Linked DNA regions of Homo sapiens: region 2 is linked to region 1. The links are contacts of gene promoters, found by promoter capture Hi-C in blood cells and fetal thymus (Javierre and others, 2016). All regions are on one chromosome and are shown on one strand. Each heading gives the region's core, a stretch centred on a gene start or on the middle of the fragment in contact. The rest is flanking DNA. Distances are from core to core; before and after follow the strand shown.

The links. Contacts are between HindIII fragments. The CHiCAGO score rates a contact against its expected background, and 5 or more counts as called.
Region 2: the fragment with the promoter of BMS1 here is called in contact with the fragment with the promoter of ZNF25 in region 1 in 1 of 17 cell types (non-activated CD4 T cells); the score reaches 6.4 in non-activated CD4 T cells.

What each region holds. Positions count from the first base shown.
Region 1 is chr10:37,973,672-37,980,461 of GRCh38, reverse strand. It overlaps ZNF25 (zinc finger protein 25), which reads left to right and starts at 3,815. Exons shown (of 6, transcript NM_145011.4): 1 at 3,815-3,956. It overlaps ZNF25-DT (ZNF25 divergent transcript), which reads right to left and starts at 3,707. Exons shown (of 6, transcript XR_930830.4): 1 at 3,457-3,707; 2 at 52-173. RefSeq lists enhancers at 3,572-3,801, 4,842-4,931 and a silencer at 3,842-4,251. The HindIII fragment of the contact is 11,670 bases long and covers 2,266-6,790 here.
Region 2 is chr10:42,780,244-42,787,033 of GRCh38, reverse strand. It overlaps BMS1 (BMS1 ribosome biogenesis factor), which reads right to left and starts at 4,239. Exons shown (of 23, transcript NM_014753.4): 1 at 4,204-4,239; 2 at 2,464-2,672; 3 at 1,362-1,552. The coding sequence starts at 2,639. RefSeq lists an enhancer at 4,059-4,408. The HindIII fragment of the contact is 6,696 bases long and covers 2,512-6,790 here.

The DNA of each region.
Region 1 (6,790 bases), core at 2,566-5,065:
TACTTCAATAAAAACATTTTTAAGTAAAATTAAACTATTCAGATATAACACCTTGAGGATTGCTTTCTTTCTGTGTCTTCTTTCCTGAATCCCTAGTGAAGTCCTCAGGTCAGGGTGATAGTCTCCTAGGTGGTTCTCTTCTTCATTTCAAAAGAACAGTTTTATTCCTTATGCTGTGGAGAAACCAAATGTAAAAATTCACCTTGTGTGAACCCTTCACCAGTGACTTCAAATTGCTACTTCTCTTGGAACTTACTAACTTCTAAAAATTAAGAGTGGACTTTCAGTAAATTTGAAATGAAACTTTTAACATATGGCACACCAAATATCCATGACACCAAATTCCAGGAGCCCCACAGGGATAGTTTATAGCCACCCTTAGGAGAGAGAGACCTCAAGACCAAATTAGAAAGAAAAGAAAAAAAGGTATATATATATGTCCACACTGTTTTGTTTTCAATGAAAATTTTAACATATACTAAATTCTCATGTATATTTGGATCTTCTGTGCTTTTTCGAAACTAGCATCAAACTTAAATTACTTTTTATTTCATTGATTTATTTTTTGAGACACAGACTCACTGTGTTGCCAGGCTGGATTTCAGTGGCACGATCTTGGCCCACTGTAACCTCTGCCTCCCAGGTTCAAGTGATTCTCCTGCCTCAGCCTCCCGAGTAGCTGGGACTGCAGGCATGCACCACCATGCCCAGCTAATTTTTGTATTTTTAGTAGAGACAGGGTTTCACCATGTTGGCCAGGATATTCTCGATCTCTTGACCTCGTGATCCTCCCACCTCAGCCTCCCAAAGTGCTGGGATTACAGGGGTGAGCTACCACGCCCAGCCTTAAATTACTTTTTAAATTTGCATTTTCAAAAAAAGTTCTGTCAATGAAAAAAGTCAACTCTGTAAAATATTTAAAGAGATTTATTCTGAGCCAAATGTGAGTGATCATGGACCTTGACACAGCCCTCTGGATGTCATGAGAACATGCGCCCAAGGTGGTTGGGGGTGCAGGTTGATTTTATACATTGTAGGAGGGCATGAGACATCAATCAAATACATTTAAGGAATACATTGGTTTGTTCCAGGAAGGCAGGACAACTTGAAGGGTGGGGGTGCTTCCAGGCTACAGGTAAATTTAACCATTTTCTAGTTGACAATTGGTTGAATTTTTGTCTAAGGAGCTGGGATCAATAGAAAGGAAATGTTCAGGTTAAGATAAAAGGTTGTGGAGACCAAAGTTCTTTTGAAGTCTCATAGTGGCTATCCTTGAAAACAAGAGATGACAGATGTTTCCTATTCAGACCCTTTAAAAGGTGCTAGACTCTCAGTCAATCTATTCAGAATTAGAAGGGCCTGGAAGGAAAAGGCCTAGCTATGTTAGTTAATAGAGATTATTTAGAGATGCAAATTTTCCCACAAAGGACGGCTTGCAGGGCCATTTCAAAATGTGACAAACATGTTTTTGGGGTAAAATGTTTTTATTTTCTTCCTTGTCTCATAATGTTATGCCAGAGTCTGGTTGGAAAGTAAGTCACATTTTATGGGGTTAAATAAAACCCATCTGATATGAATTTATGGTTTGTAGGGCATAACTCCTCAGACCCCTTAGATAGAAATTTGGATAAGATAAAAAAAATCAGAGTTTAGTCTTCAGTTCCTTGCTATTCCCTGAGGTTGTTTCCTGAGGAAGTTAAAAATTATTTTATCAAGTAAAACAAAACTAAGCTCCCCGTTAAGATTTTTTAATTTAAATTTTGATTGAAATTGTGTTAAATTTTATAGTTTCTCTAAGGGTAAATATAAATATAAAAATTTGGGCTGGGCGCAGTGGCTCACGCCTGTAATCCCAGCACTTTGGGAGGCTGAGGCAGGTGGATCACGAAGTCAGGAGCTCAAGACCACCTTGGCCAAGATGGTGAAATCCCGTCTCTACTAAAAATACAAAAAAAATTAGCCAGGCGTGGTGGTGGGCGACTGTAATCCCAGCTACTCAGGAGGCTGAAGCAGAGAATTCCTTGAACCTGGGAGGCAGAGGTTGCAGTGAGCCGGGATCATGCCACTGCATCCCAGTCTGGGTGACAAAGCCAGACTCTGTCTCAAAGAAAAAAATAAAACAACTGAATTTTCCTTCTTGCAAAAAGGGAAAAAGACCTTTACTCCTCTCTTTTCTTACAGCATTTCCTTAAGAAAACTTGTAATTGTAAATCCCTTCTCTGTCCCTGTGAGATATAGCAAAACTTTTTAAAAAGTAAATAAGCTTCTTGCTAGTTTAACAACCCAGGAAGGTCTTTCTTAATGGCCTTGGGTCATGTCTTTGAAATGTAAGCATCAAGGAAGATTGCACCCCATCTCCCTGCCTCTGTGGTAAACTCCTAGGCTCCTGGCTACCCGCGGTTAACTACCTGCGTGTCATAGAGATACCAGAAACTTTACTTTTCATTTGCATAATGGCAATTAACTAACACTGATGGCTACCCTAATTATCAGGTGAATTTCAGATGAATTATGCATAGCAAATGTTGCTGTACAGTCATCTTACTTGAGGACAAGTTATTTTTACCTTGAGGAAATAGAATGCGTTGTACCAGACCGGCTAATACAAAAAATGATAGTTCTTCCTGTCTTCATAAACTCATTAGTGGGTTGCCTGTGACGCACATCGCAGTCTGGTTTAATGTTTATTCAATAATGTAACTGTTTTGTTCTTTTCTCCATCTGTGGAGAGAATTTTCTGGGTTGGCAAGAGGCTTTATTTTAAATTATTTCCTCAATACTTCCCATCCAGAAAGGTGGTGTGTGTGTGTGTATTATGTGCGCATATTTTTATATGTATATATATGTGTGTTTATACACATGACAATATATACGTTTTTTTCTAGATGATTCTACATGTTTTAATGTAATAAAGTTATTGACCAGGAAATATATAATTTGTTTTACATATACAGCCAAGTCCTCTCTCTGTATCCGCGGGGGATTAGTACCAGGACCTCCCTGGATTACTCAAATCCAGGGATGTTCAAGTCTCTGGTAGAAAATAACCTGATATTTGCATAACCTACACACCTCCTCCTGTATATTTTAAATTATGTCTAGATTAATTGTACACCTAACACAATGTAAATACTATGTAAATAGTTTTATTGTATTGTTTAGGGTATAATGACAAGGGGGAAACTTTGTACATGTTCAGTAAGATAGAATTTTTAAGTATTTTCATTCTGAGCTTAGTTGAATCCATAGATATGCACCCCCAGGATAAGGAGGGATGACTATATATATTCCTTAGTGAAATGATAGTCATGATACTCTATACCATTAGGTTAAAATTTGTGTAAATTCATGAGAAGGATGTTCACCTAACATTAAGCGCTTTTGCTTTTGGGAAGTGGTATACTCGTTTTCTGTTTTAGCTTATACATATTTTGTAGTTTATTACGTTTCGCGTACCGTTTGCACAATTGTGAAAGCTAGCATTCCTAAGAGGAAGCGGTTACAGGGCATTATCCTTCATTACTCCACGTACTCCTGTACCCACGGAGTTCAATCACTTTAACAAAACTGCCCATCAGTGTTCCTTGGAGCACCTCACGGTGGATTTCTGTCTTCAAGCCCAGACGTGCAGGGTGCAGCTCTCCGGCCATCACTGAGCAAGGACAGCGCCCTCTCCCGGAAACCCGACAGCAATCACTCAGGCCGCTGGAGGCGGCCGCGCCTCACGACGTCATCCAAGATGGAGTCGCAGCCGGGCCTTCTGGGAAGCGTAGTTCTGGAGTAGGGCTAGGGAAACGTTCTGCGCATGTGCAGTGTCTTCTTTCTGGCATTGGCGTTTTTTTGGTCTTACGCCCTAGGGTGGGGAGAGGACTCCGGTGCCTCCGGGTCTGGGCTGGGCCGCAAAGGGCGGGGCCTGGGCCCGGCGCGGGCCGGGAGCAGAGGCCGAGACCCTGCAGGTGTGTCGAAGGCTTTTGCGGGCGGGCAGGGCCTGGGAGGCGGGGTCTCGAGCCTGGAAGCCGCCTCCTGGCCCCGGAGCGGCCTCCGCGGAGGGCCCTGGGTGGGAGCCGCCTGGTGGGGAGGTTGGCTGGCTGCGCTGGCGCCCCTGCCCGGAATGGCGTTTGCGCGACCTGCTTGAGGGGCGGCCAGAGGAGGCCTGCGGTGCTGGGCAGTGGGCGCCCGGAGCAGCCGCATTGTGTGACGTGACCGGAGCCGCCATGTGAGGCGCGCTGGCCGCTGCAGACGCGGCGCTCCAAAGCCGCAGGGACGTGGGCTCTGGTCCAGCGTCTGTAGGTGGTCCCAGTGCGGCTCGACGCGCATCTGGCAAATGATGGGGGCCTTTGGGTACTGAATAGGGTAATAGATGTAAAGTATGATACAGGACTCAATAAAGGTGAGCTGCTTCTATTATTACAAAACATGCTGTTTTCATTATTGGCTCATTTAATCATCGTAACCATCCTTTCGACTTAACCATCTCTATTAAAATAAATGTGACTATTAAAGATTCAGAGAGAGAAATCCGTTTACCCACAGTATTAGCAGGTGGGATGTAAATCCTCACTTTTTCCTCTGAGTTAATGCGCCTTGCCACACTAAAATCCAGTCTTGACTTGTATTTAGCACAGCATTTGCCCCTTGAGCACCACCAGAACGTAGCTGTGTGGTGTACTTGAACCCAGTCTCAACCAGGTAGTGTTCTGTTTCCAAAAATGCTTGGGGAATCTTCAGAGCACTTGAGTCAAAAGGTGAATTATTTAAGGCCTTCCTGCATCCTCCAACCTTAGTCTCTTCTCAGAGGACTGTGAAACGTGTAAATTGAAACCACAATTTGAGCCCTCAATTTTGCATTTTACAGGAGAAGCTGGGAATCCCATCCAGCCCAGAGGCTAGTTTCTAAAGACAGGAAATGGGACAAAAAATTTTTTTAAAGATGAAAACTGCAGTTCATCAGTTCCTCCATTTTATGGTGGTGATCTTATAATGCCTCTCATTGGCTGATAACTGAGCTTAGGCATTTCGTAAGCACCATGCTAGCTGGAAGTGGTTTTTGCTGCTTATTTTAGTTTTTTTTTTTGGTACATAATGTACATATTTGTGGGGTACATGTGATATTTTGATATATGCATACAATGTGTCATGATCAAATCGGGGTAATTACAATATCCACCGCCTCATTTATCATTTCTTTGTGTTGCAAATATTCGAAATCTTCTAGCTATTCTGATAGCTAATAAATTATTGCTAACACTTGTAACCATACTGTGCTATTGAACACTAGGACTTAATCCTTCTACCTAACTGTATTTTTGTACCCATTAACCAACCTCTCTTCATTCCTCACTCCCTACTTCCCTTCGCAGCCTCTGGTAACCATCATTCTACATCGTATCTTCATGAGATCAACTATCTTAGCTCCTGCGTATGAGTGAGAACATGATATTTGTCTTTCTGTGCCTGGCTTATTTCATGTAACATAATGCCCTCCAGTTCCATCTTTGTTGCTGCAATGACAAAATTTCCTTCTTTTTATGTCTGAATAATATTCCATTGTGTATATATACCACAATTTTCATTATCTATTCATGCATTGATGGGTACTTAGGTGGATTCTGTATCTAGACTATTGTGAATAGTGCTGCGATAAAAATGGGAGTGCAGAGATATCTTCAATATACGGATTTCCCTTCTTTTGGATATATATATAGCAGTGAGATTGCTAGATCATATGGTAATTCTGTTTTCAATTTTTTGAGGAACCTCCATACTGTTTTCCACAGTGGCTGTACTAGTTTACATTGCCACCAAGGTTGTATGAGGGTTCTCCTTTCTCTATATCCCAGCATTTGTTATTTTTTTGCCTTTTTTATAATAGCTGTTTTAAGGGGTAAAATGATATCCCATTATGGTTTTGATTTGCATTTGTCTGATGATTAATGATGTTGAAGATTTTATCGTATACCTATTGGCCATTTGTATGTCTTCTATTGTGGAATGTCTGTTCAGATCATTTGCTCAATTTTTTTAAATCAAATTTTTTGTTTTCTGACTGTTGAGTTCCTTGTATATTCTGGTTATTAATTCCTTGTCAGATGGGTAGTTTGCAAATATTTTCTCCTATTCTTTGGGTGTCTTTTCACTGTTATTGCTTACTTTGCTGTGCTGAAACTTTTTCGTTTGATGTAATCCCATTCATCTATTTTTGCCTTTGTTGCTTGTGCTTTTGAGGTCTTACCAAAAAATTTTTGCCGAGAACAATGTTCTGAAGCATTTCCAAATGTTTTCTTCAAGTAGTTTCATAGTTTCAGGTCATACATTTAACTCTTTAATCCACTATCATTTGATTTTTGCATATGATGAGAGACAGGGGTTTAGTTTCATTCTTCTGCGTATGGATATCCAGTTTTCTCAGCACCATTTATTGAAGAAACTGTCATTTCTCCAATGTATGTTCTTAGTGCCTTTGTCAAAAATGAAATTGGCTATAAATGCATGTATTTATTTCTCAATTCTCTTTTTCATTGATCTATGTGTCTCTTTTTATGCCAGTAACCTACTGTTTTGTTTACTATAGCTTTATAGTATATTTTGAAGTCTGGTAGTACAATGCCTCCACCTTTGTTCTTTTTGCACAAAATTGCTTTGGCTACTCGGGGTCTTTGGTGGTTCCATATAAATTTTAGGATTTTTTTTCCTATTTCTGTGAAGAATGTCATTGGTATTTGGATATGGATTGCATTTAATCTGTAGACTGCTTTTAGTACTATGGACATTTTAACAATATTAATTCTGC
Region 2 (6,790 bases), core at 2,990-5,489, 4.8 Mb before region 1:
TTTTACAGGCAAAAACTGATAAAATAAAATAAATTCCATTCTGTTTTTCTTGCTGTGTTCTAAATTTAAATAACATCAAAAGTCTACCCAGATGAATAAAAGTGCTCAAAAAGGGAAAATTCTGACTGCACAGACTCCATGATAACCATGATCCTGCTGTTCAGCTGCAGGCCCAATGTCTTTGCCTCTATCAAAACTTCCCGTATTCCCACTAGAGCTACAAACATCCTCAAACATAATGCAACAGAATATTCATAACAATAATTACTTCTAAATTAAGGTAAAAATAAAACAGTCAAGAAAATATGGGCTGGGCACAGTAGCTCTCGCCTGTAGTCCCAGCAACTTGGGAGGCCAAGGCAGGCGGATCCCTTGAGCCCAGGAGTTTTGAGACCAGCCTGGGCCATATGGGGAAACCCCATCTCTACAGAAAAAAAAAAAAAAGGAAAAAAAAGAAAAATTAGCCAGGCGTGGTGGCATACACTACTCAGGAGGCTAAGGTAGGAGGAATGCTTGAACCTGGGAGGTAGAGGCTGCAGTGAGCCGTAATCACACCACTGCACTCCAGCCTGTACCACAGAGTAAGACTCTGTCTCAAAAAAGGGAAAAGAAAATATGGATGCTCCAAAGATAAAGAAAAGCCTCAATCCAACTATATTATTGCAATAACAAGAGATTTCAGAGTGTACATTGCCATTCTACCACTGGAAGTTTGTTTCATTTTCCCTCAAACTCGGAAAGGTCACCATCTCCCAAAGCAGACAATTCTCACAGGAAAAAGAGAAAACTCGCACTTCCACCAGAATGTGGCTTCATAAGGCAAGCATATGCACCTGGCACATAGGAGGTGCGTGCTATCTGTTAAATGATGTGTTCACGGTGACTAGGCCTGCTAGGCCCTTCCAAGGAACATGTTTGGCAAAGCCAAAGAGCAGTCAGGATAAGACATAGTGAACATTATCATTTCTCATACAAAAAATGGAGGAGGAAACCAGGAAGAAAAGGAAAGCATCACCTTAAGAGGCTGGACCACACATCCTTCTACACGGAGGAAGAGGACTGTGGCTGGTGTCGCAATCGAGCAGCAAAGCTTGATTTTCCAGCCCGAGTGCTGGGTTCGAGTATCTTCCTGCCTTGGAACCTCCCAGAGTGCTGGGAGGAAATGTGAACATTATCACATCCTTATCTCTGGGAACTTACCCTTTTCTGAAGCTATAGCCAACTTAGTAATACTAAGTATAAGAGAAGTCCCATGATATGACAATATTTAACATGTTCCACTCAAGAAAACAACAAACGCATGCATGTCCCTCAGATGACAACAGCCACGCCAACTCTGTGTCTGTGGTGGCATCTCCTACCTGACACAATCGTCACAGGGCCTCTGATCTCAGTCAACTTCTGCCGGGTAAAGTTCCGAATGAGGCATTGTATCAAAGTGCTCTTTCCAACTTTTGGAGGTCCCATCACCACTACCACTATTGGTGGGGGCTCTAGTGGAGTTCGATCAACCACTGGAATATGATGCTTTTTTGTCTTCAAATCCTGAGTCCTATTCATTAAAAAATAAACAAATAAATAAATAGTAAACTCATTTTCAAAATAGAGTAAAAGGTATCAACCTTATAAGTAGACTTTTTTGGTACACTTATAGCTATGAGTACTTTAGCACATTTTATAGAGAGTACAACAGACAATATATAAATATAATTAACTTGTCAATTATTAACTTGCTAACTTCTGGCCCCATCCAAATAATTGCTGTTCAATAAAGATGTAACAAGATGACTTCAATACTATAGAGAGCGAAAATTAAACACTCCTTAAATCTGACTGTTTTAAGAGTGATTTTAATAGTTTTTTAAAAAACCAAAAGGTAAATAGCGAGGCAGTACATCATAGCAGATAAGAGCAGAGGCGCTGGAGTTACATTTAGCTCTCCTACTTACTGGTTATATGATTGGAGGTAACTTGTTTTCTTGATCTCAGTTTTCTTACCCATAAAATGAGGGCAAGAATGATTCCTACTCTGGTAAGGCTGCTGGAAGGATTTAGTTGAATAATGTTTAAAGTACACTGCTAGGCATATCACAAGGGCTCACTAAATAAAGCTATGTTAGTATTAAATATTGTAATTTTTGTATTTTATATTACAACTATGTAAAACATACCTGGGGGGAAAAAGCACACTTATCACCATAGAAACAGTTTAAAATTTAGGAACAAACAAAGTCTATAAATTCTTGTATCCTGGGCAATAAACACTAACCAGTATGCAGATGCTGGAGGCAAGGCAGCTTCTATGGGAAAAGCTTCTCACGTTTTAGTGAAAGCCACACACCATGAATCTCCATGTCCTTTGGAGCTGGACTAGACTCGTGAATCCAAATGTCACCTGTGAGAGGCTCCTACTATTTAAAAAAAGAATCAATGGAAGAATGACCAGACCGTAGCCTAACATACCTGTGAAAGGATCGAGCCATCCGCACAGCAGACTGAACTGCAAAAGCTTTGGGATTTCTCTTCCGGGCATCTTCTTCGTCTCCTAGCTGGAGATCCTGCAGAAGCCGCTTCTTTTTCTTTGCAGCTTTGGGTCCACTGTTTTTCTTTCTGTGTTTCTTCTGGTCCTTAGCCTCCATAGTGGCTATTTACCAATAACAAGTAACTCTAACCTACAAGGAAGAAGGTTGGGGTAAGGAGATGGGAGAAGCATTTTACAATCCAGGCAATACCCAGGGAAAAACAGTAAATTTCATTTATTTCTTTATGAAGAGATGATGTATTTGTTCACTGAACAAGGGTAGAAACTGCTTAACCATCCCCAATTTCATTTCTCTCTGTTATGCTATAAATTAGATGAGTTACCTCTCTTAAGATTACATTTTATGGTTAAGTTACTTTTTATTCATCTTAAGTGTCAACATCAGCAGTATCTATTTCTGCAAGGATAGAAATATACTATATCTGTACTTTTCAGCCATTTAGCCATTAGCCACATGTGGTTACTTACAATATACTTAGGGAAACTGAAAAAATGAGTTTTTAATTAATTTCATTCTAACTCCAAATAGTCACATGTGGCTACCATACTGGACAGCTCAGACCCAGGTATCAACTGGACTGATGAAGTGGTTTCCTAACTTAAACTAAAACTTAAATTTTAATAAAAAAATGTGAAACGTTTTTATGAACCTCCAATATGATCGCAGTATTACTTTTAGTACCTGTTGACTCTGTAAAACTCCTAAATTACAACTTATCTACATACATTTGAAAAATAGAAATAGCTGTACGTGTGAGATAGGACTGGTTCTAGATGACACCTGGAGACCCCATGAACTTACAGAGACCCTTCCAGTGATTTCTGAGTTACCTGGGAATCTGTGGCTAATAAATTGGCAATCACTGAATTAGTGAGTTATTTTAGGAAATCGGGCTGCATAAAATCTGACAGCTTGATTAAAAAAAAAAAGCGGAGCAGGATGCCATTTCATTCAATTAAGGTACTGTATTCATTCCGTTGAATAAATATTTGTGTCTGTCTACGATGTGCTAGGCACTGTGCCAGTAAGTGGATACAGCTATTATCTGACTTGCAGAGGAAATCCAAACTATTATCTTCCGCGCCACGCAATAAGGGCGACATTGGAAGGCTGCACAGGGTGCTACTGGAGCACGGAGGTGAGTCAGAGGCTTCCCACAGACACACACCAGCGGAAACAAAGTCTTTATGTATTACCATAATGTCAAGAACACTGGCCAGGAGTTAGGAGAGCTGGGCGCTAGGAACGCTTTGAAACCGAATAGCTGTGTGATTTCAGAGATTATGTTTCTTCTCTGCTATATTTTAGTTCAGCACTTGTACTAATGTTTCTCTCCCTGTCTTTCTTCTTGGTGGGAAAAGCACAATTTGGGGTCAACAGATCCAGCTCAGGTCTAAGTCTCCTACCGGGACCACGTCGCCAGGAAACGACGTCGCCCAGCCACCTTCCCTCCCCGTCTGGGCTCTCTGCAGGGATTCATCACGTCACTCACCCAACTACCCCAGGACACCTCCGCCAGATGAGAAATATGCCGCTCCTCGGGAGCAAAGATGACCCGGAGGACCGGGGGAGGACCTTCCCACACGCACGACTCGCGATCTTCCCAGTGCCCCAGAACCAGGGACCCCACCGCCGCCTACCCCAACCCGCAGCACCGAACCTGCTCGCAGCCGCGACTCCTCAGGTCAGCATGGACACCGCCGGAAACGGAAATTCACAGTCGCGCTGACTCGCCGGAGGGAAACAAGAAGGCAGAAAAAAGAGACCGGCATGGGGACGGCTTTCAGGGGAGAGCCTGAAGAAAGAGGGCTGAACAGCTGAGTGCGGACGCAGGCGCCGTCCGCGCAGTGCGTTCCACCGGGTCCAGGTCCTTCCAGATTCCTCTCCACCCCGCCCTCGGAATCCGCGGCCTCAACTTCCGCGGTGGGACTCCGGAGCAGCGTGCGCCGCGCTCGCCTGAGTTCTCGCCGAAGGCCAGGGCGGCTCTGCGGCCTGGCGCCGGTTAGTTAGTGTGGTGCAAAAGCCGGAAGGAGACACATTTGGTCCTGGCCTCCCGGCAGTCACCGTGCCAAGGACGAATGGACTATCGCTTGATTTGGAGTACACTTCCTCCTCTTTAAAGATTACAGATGAGGGGGATCTCGCGTTCTGGGGTGCCCTAAAGCCCTCTTTTGGCAGGGCGCAGTGGCTCACGCCTGTAATCCCTACACTTTGGGAAGCCGAGGAGGGAGGATTGCTTGAGCCCAGGAATTCAAGACAAGCCTGGGCAACATAGGGAGCCTACCTCTCTCTCTTAAAAAAAAAAAAAAAAAAAATTAGCCGGCATCGTGCCGGGCGCCTGTGGTGCTTGTGGTCCCAGCTACTCTGGAGGCTGAGGTGGGAGGATCGCTTGATCCCAGGAGGCGGAGTCTGCAGTGAACTGAGATGAGCCACTGGACTTCAGCCTGGGCAACAGAGCAAGACACTGTCTCTAAGAAAAATAAATAACATAAGGCCCTCTTTTGCCAGGACCAACAAACCGTGAGGGCAGGGACAAACTGACCCAGCCTAAACTGCCTCGCCCTCCCTAAACCCGGGAAAGGGGCTTTACCTGAGTGAACGTAGCATCTTGCCGTTTTCTTACTGCACAGCTTTACCTTCCCAGGGATCCGCCCATTGCCACCTGAGGAAATGCCTTGGAGTCCATCTAATCCCCAGCCCAGCTACTTGGGAGCCTACAGAGCGTACATTGTCAGAGGATGCATCTTCCTTTAGTCTTGGAGGGTTTCTTTTCAATATGATCCCGCTGGTGCATTCAAGGCTCAATTCTACACCAAAAACTAGGCCCACTCCTGTCACGAGAACCCCAGGCGTCAGGTCTTCTCACAGGCACCTTGTTCTTGCCCTCAGCAGCCCCCAGGTATTCACTCTGCATATTCTAGATACTGGGTGCTGGACTTGGGAGGCTACCCACGTGGCACATGCTTCCCTTATCCCTGAAGAGCTTAGAGTGTTGTAACTTCTTCACACTACACCTCTTACTTCTTGAAGATTTCAGTATCCAGGTAGATAATCCTTCCAACATCCTTTTGGTCTCATGAAGCCCACTCCTGTCCTCTGCCCTACCTCAGCTTCCCCCTCCCTCCATGATCAGACCTTAGACCTTGTCAGGTCCAAGGACTGCAACCCCCACAGTATCCCACTCTGACCAGGTCTATCTATCCTCCTATCTGTCCAGGTCACTCCCTATACTGCCCTGAAACAAAACTCCTGCAACCTTACCAGCACCTCCAATCAAGATCTTACTACTTGTTCACTGTTTCTTCCTTTATGACCCTCTCTAGTGAGCCAGCTTAAACTCAATGGCCAACCATTCTCATTGATCCCTTGCACACCTCCTCAACTCATGCACCTCCCTGTCATCTCCTATCTGCTTGGTAAGATGGGAGCCCTGGATAAACCCAGCTCTCCATCTATTCCATGCCACGACGATGCAACTAAACATGGCTGGAGGAAAACAGGACCATGCCAGCCGTCCTCACTTTAATCATTCTTTGCCTGGTCTATTCAATCTCCCATTGTTCCAAGTGAGTATTTCGCACTTCCTCCTCTCTGTTCAATCCTTCCCACTGCCTCTCCCTTCCTTGCCTCCTGCTTTGCTAAGAGAATAGAAGTGGTAAAAGTCTTCCACAGACTCCCACGTCCACCTCCACCCATCCGCCTCTTATTGCCTCCCTGTGACTGTGGATGAACAACTGCTAGGTCCACCCAAAGAATCCTGCACTGGACTGCTGGATCCCATCATCTCTTACTGCTCCAGGGTGTCACTCCAGCCAGCCTATCCTCTCTGCAACATCAGCAATATTTTCCTTTCTACTGGACTCTTCTCATCGTCACATAACATGCAGCTATTTCTCTCATCTTCAAAACAAAGAAATTACTCGACCCTATTTCCTATACCAGGACCTGCACCTTTTCTATGTTCCCCTTTGCAGCAAAACTTCACAAAAGAACAGTCAATACATACTCTGGCCCCTCTCCTATTCACTTTGATTCACTTGTCTCACAGGACTCCACCTGCAGCCCTGGATGCTCTTTCTCAGCTGCTTTTGCTGGTTCCCCTGCTCTCACCTGTTTAAATTAGAGTGAGGCCATAGGTTTCGGGCTTCAGTTTTCTTTTCTTCTGTGTCTATACTTATTCCCTGGATGATCTAATTCTGTCTCAGTTTTATATGCCATCTGTATCAGTTATTGATATGTTTTGGGTC